Regions from separate parts of the Homo sapiens genome. Here region 1 is linked to region 2. Evidence: promoter capture Hi-C in human tissues and cell types (Jung and others, 2019). All regions are on one chromosome and are shown on one strand. Each heading gives the region's core, a stretch centred on a gene start or on the middle of the fragment in contact. The rest is flanking DNA. Distances are from core to core; before and after follow the strand shown.

Region 1 (2,700 bases), core at 27-2,526, 44 kb after region 2:
CTGTGCAGCATCAGCAACTGCTGCTGCCCTAGTCAGGGGCTCTGGGAAGCAGTAGGAGAGTCTGTGGGCTGATGTTCTAGGTGCCAGCAGGGGACAGGTAGCTGGGGGCAGGGGGAATGATGCTACCACAGACACTGTCTGTCCAGCTCTTGCTAAAGACATGTAATTGGAAAGGTTTTTTTAAAAGGAAAACTATAACAAAAGAAATAGATACATGCAAAAAAAAAGATAAATAGTAGTGAAATATTTAGAACTACATTATTTCTGGAGAAAATGAGTTTACTGGCTAAACTATTGGCCCTTGCCCTTCTTCTGGGTTTACTGAGAAGGCATTTGGTGCCTAGATACAGACTTAGCCAAATATCTCTCCCACTTTTGGTAAACCCTCTGCTGGTGAATGATGTGGGAAACTCTCTCGGAATTCCACACCTTGCTTTAGTTTGTCTTCATTCCCTTGCTCCACTTCTATGCTTGGAGCAACAGCATGCTGCCTCCCCTTCCTGCCCTCTTGTACCTTTCATGCAGGTGCTGATGGTGAGTCAGGCTAGAGGTAAGGGAGGACCTGGAACTCCAGAATGCTGGGTGTCAGAGTCAGAGTGGGGAGAAGCCAAAACAGTACACTAGCAGTCTGCTCAAATCAGGTGCTGAGTGACTGCTGAGGTCTCATGGATTCTTTCACTTTGAAACTGGGGACTCTGATAATTTTCATGGGGCTTCTGCAGGGTTTCCAGAAGAGGGGCCCCAGCTGTTGAGAACATACAATACTCTGGGTTCAACATACCTGTGTGTGGGCCTTGCTAGACTCTAGGAGACAGTGTCAGTGGACTAGGGGAGTCCTTCTGGGGCAGTTGCTGTCCACCACACCTCAGCTCCCTATAGCTGGGTCTCTTCTTAGACTCTGAAGAGGAAGAGTGGATGATTTTTTTTATCTTCTAGGTCCAGCCATGAACCCAGGCTCCTTGGAAACCCAAGCTTATGATCACTTTCTCACAATTTATTCTGGGACCCCTTTTCTCAGCTCTCTTAGCTCCTGATAGGGGTTATCCATGAAAAGTCCAACTCTTGCAGGCTGAGTTGTCTCTGTGTCTGTCCTCATGAGTATATGTCTTGGCCTCTCTTCTCAATATTCTTGTGAAGGCACAGGAAATATAGATAAGAGGTATGTGGGTTTTGAAGGTTAGTATGTTGTAAGGAAGGGCACTAAAACCCTTACTCTGACATCTCCCAAAATGAAATACAGAAGTAAAGATGGATAGTGGCTTCCTAATATCCCCTTTTCATCAGTGTTAAAAATCGTCAAGCCTACACTACATCCATTTTCCCTGTGTACCCAAATGTTATGCTCTGCTACATTGAGAACCTTCCAAATAGAGACATCTCTTTTTCCACTCCCTGAGTCTTTACTCTGCCTCTCTACATCTTCCTAGGTCTGGAGACTTTTAGCCAGCTTGTTTGGAAATCTGCTGAGGGCACAGTAAGTGTGGACCCTCAAAAAGGGCTCCTTTTTCATCTCTGGGGTTGGATCCCAATATTGAGAATCCTAGAAAAATCTTGTTTTGCCTTAGGATCCTGGTGGCTTGAGATAGCCCCAGTAGAAATGGAAGAGGAGATGTGAGTGGAAAACTGGTTTGGTAGATTTGGTCTGTTTGGAATCACTGTAATTTGGTCCCCCTGAGTCATCATTTAGTAATGACCTTGAGGCCACACTGCTTTGAAGAAAATAAACTATGTTAACAGGAAAATCCAGAATTTGTAGGCTGAGTGGTGTTTGGGACAGTTGTATTAGGCTGGCGTTGGACAATTGCTCTCTGGGAAGGTGGCTGCTTATGGTCATTTATAGAGGTGGGGAGCATTTAGGGAGAGAGCGACCCTGAGAACAGTCACAGATTGGCTTTTTAAGAATCCTGGGAGAGTTGTCTTCATCTCCCTGTGCCCCCATAGTAAGCTTCCTTTGAAACTGACATGTTCAATGTTTGTTCTGCACAGTTCTTTATCAACAAGACTGAGATTGAGGACTTTCCCCGCTTTCCTCACCGGGGCTTGCTGTTGGATACATCTCGCCATTACCTGCCACTCTCTAGCATCCTGGACACTCTGGTAACCAGGCCTTAAGGCCTTCTTCACACTTAAGAGTTCTAGGGTGATGGAGCAACGGACAGACCAAGTTCCAAATTCTTAAAGAGTTAGAGAGGGAATGTATGGACTGGGTGTGGTGGCTCATGCCTGTAATCCCAACACTTTGGGAGGCCGAGGTGGGCGGATCACCTGAAGTCAGAAGTTCAAGGCCAGCCTGGCCAACATGGTGAAACTCTGTCTCTACTAAAAATACAAAAATTAGCTGGGCATGGTGGTGCATGCTTGTAATCCCAGCTACCTGGGAGGCTGAGGCAGGAGAATCGCATGAACCCAGGAGGCAGAGGTTGCAGTGGGTGGAGATCACGCCACTGCACTCCAGCCTGGGTGAAAGAGTGAGACGCTGTCTCAAAAAAAAAAAAAAAAATTGTATGTAATTCTATGAGCTCCTGGGAAAAATGTAGAAGATGAGCTGCTCCAAGACTCAAAAAATAACAGAGTGACTTAAATCTACCTTACAGGCTACTGTAGATCAATGTTCAGGCTGTTTCCAGGGATACAAATGTTTAGGGGAATTGGCTTCATTGGCAGAGCTAACTATATTTGTTTTTGAGACAGCGTCTCAAT
Region 2 (2,700 bases), core at 136-2,635:
TAAAATTTGACATAAATAACATTATCTTCATAGCTGGCATTTGTTATACCACATATCTAACGTACATTTAAGTTCTATTCCACTGCTAGGAGAAGAACAAGCTGACCTTGAAAGTTAAATCTAATAGAGGTTAAGATATTTGCTTTATCTTCCAGCTATGATCAATCACTTCTCTTCTAATTCTGCAAGCCACATTAGAATACCAATCACATTGCTTAGCAGTAACACCTTGTAAATGAGTTATTCCTAGGGCAGGCATGGTGGCTTACACCTATAGTCCTGGTACTTTGGGAGGATCACTTGAGGCCAGGACTTTGAGACCAGCCTGGGAAATATAATGAGAACTTGTCTCTACAAAAGAAAAAAAAATTTAAAAAAATTAAAAATTAGCCAGGAGTGTTGGCACACATCTGTAGTTCCACCTACTCAGGAGGTTGAACAGGAAGATTGCTTGAGTCCTGGAGGTGGAGGCTGCAGTGAGCAATGATAGTGCTTTTGCACTTCGGCTAGGCGTTAGAGCAAGAGCCTGTCTCGAAAAACCAACCAACAAACAAAAACAGTTCTTCCCATAAAGAGAGTATAACCCATTATTTAGGACAGGAAACAACCTGGAATAGGAGAGAGAAAGGGCACACTGAGGATACCAAAGAAAGATCCATCCTGCACTTGGAGAGGTGAAGGCCAAAAGATCTTGGAGGAAGAAACATGAAGGGCCAATTTGTGTGAGCAGAAAGCTCTGCAATTGTGTGGGGCCTGTGGCATTTAATTCGGTGGCACTCACAGGGTGGCTTGGGTGTGTGGCTCCAGCACAGCTCATGGTTGCATAAGGTCCAGAGTCCTGCGTAGAGCTCAAGGCCATTCTTGATCACCAGAAACTGTACCCAGTTCAGTGGGGACATGGCGATCAGCATTAGGAGGCTAAAACTACAGAGGCTGCCACAGAGCGTTCGGATGTAGATGTGTGCCTGATCCATAAGCTGCTGCTGCCTTTGGCATGACATCGAGGCACTTGGATGTTTCTTGGCAGGGACGGTAGGCTACAAGGATGAGGGAAATATTGCCTACCCGAAAGAATAACCCCTGATCCCCAGGGTCACCCGCTCTTCTCTACCTCAAGCATTCCCATGTGTGTTTGATTTATAGATATTTTTCCCTACTCCTAAAAAAAAAAAACCCCACAATTTTCAGGGTGATCTTTTCTGTCTTTAGGATGCTCTGTGTAGCCCTGCCTTTAAGTAAGTTCTCTTCTTCCCATCTGACTTTCAATTAGATACCTCCTCACCCTTTGGTATTTCCGGTTCCCCTTTATTTTGGGAACCTCAGGACTGTGGAAAGTCAAGGTTAAATGTTCCCTTCGCTCCATCTTGGCAGTTAGTTCTCTAACTGCCACGGAATTTGTCTCTGCATCTCCTCACACATGCTGGCAGAAGCAAAAAGGGCCAGGACCCATGGCATAGATCCTGTTTCTGTTTTATATTTTTGATCTGGTCAGATCAGGAAGAAATCACCACATTTTAAGCATGTGCATGTATGTGTGATGCTCCCCACCCTCCATTCTCCACCTACTCCCAACTCTTTTATTAAATAAATCCACAAACATTTTGTTAGCAGTGGCTGTGTGTCAGGCTTTGTGCTAGCTTCTGGGACACAAAAATAAATAAGACACAGTTCCCTCATAGCAAATAAAAAAAGGGGAACTCATATGCTTGTTGGCCACATGTGTTTCTTCTTTTGAAAAGTGTTCATGCCCTTTGCCCACTTTTTAATGGGGTTATTTGTCTTTTTCTTGTAAATTTATTTGAGTTCCTTACAGATGCTGGATATTAGACCTTTGTCAGATGCATAGTTTGCAAAAAAATTTTCCCTTTCTGTAGGTTTTCTGTGTACGCTATTGATAGTTTCTTTTGCTATGCAGAAGCTCTTTAGTTTAATTAGATCCCATTTGTCAATTTTTGCTTTTGTTGCAATTGCTTTTTGCATCTTCATCATGAAATCTTTGCTGGTTTCTATGTTCAGATCATTAGAGAAATTAATCTTTGTATTTTTTTTTTAATTTTTTTATTTTTTTATTGATCATTCTTGGGTGTTTCTCGCAGAGGGGGATTTGGCAGGGTCATAGGACAATAGTGGAGGGAAGGTCAGCAGATAAACAAGTGAACAAAGGTCTCTGGTTTTCCTAGGCAGAGTGTTTGTGTCCCTGGGTACTTGAGATTAGGGAGTGGTGATGACTCTTAACGAACATGCTGCCTTCAAGCGTCTGTTTAACAAAGCACATCTTGCACCGCCCTTAATCCATTTAACCCTGAGTGGACACAGCACATGTTTCAGAGAGCACAGGGTTGGGGGTAAGGTCATAGATCAACAGGATCCCAAGGCAGAAGAATTTTTCTTAGTACAGAACAAAATGAAAAGTCTCCCATGTCTACTTCTTTCTACACAGACACAGCAACCATCCGATTTCTCATTCTTTTTCTCACCTTTCCCCCTTTTCTATTCCACAAAACCGCCATTGTCATCATGGCCCGTTCTCAATGAGCTGTTGGGTACACCTCCCAGACGGGGTGGTGGCCGGGCAGAGGGGCTCCTCACTTCCCAGTAGGGGCGGCCAGGCAGAGGCGCCCCTCACCTCCCGGACGGGGCGGCTGGCCGGGCGGGGGGCTGACCCCCCACCTCCCTCCCGGACGGGGCGGCTGGCCGGAC

The links. The method cuts DNA at HindIII sites, captures the fragments that hold promoters and counts their contacts. A contact is called where the count stands out against the background at its distance.
Region 1: a contact is called between a fragment that was not itself captured here and the fragment with the promoter of TMEM202 in region 2, in 1 of the 25 tissues and cell types used here (hippocampus).

Annotation. Positions count from the first base shown.
Region 1 is chr15:72,352,465-72,355,164 of GRCh38, reverse strand. HEXA (hexosaminidase subunit alpha) reads left to right here. Exons shown (of 14, transcript NM_000520.6): 4 at 1,428-1,474; 5 at 1,987-2,097. Among named protein-coding and RNA genes, the nearest start is that of HEXA, 22 kb to the left of the region's middle. The HindIII fragment of the contact is 4,095 bases long and covers 1-2,700 here.
Region 2 is chr15:72,396,990-72,399,689 of GRCh38, reverse strand. It overlaps TMEM202 (transmembrane protein 202), which reads right to left and starts at 1,385. Exons shown (of 5, transcript NM_001080462.3): 1 at 1,283-1,385; 2 at 782-1,037. The coding sequence starts at 1,363. The HindIII fragment of the contact is 13,856 bases long and covers 1-2,700 here.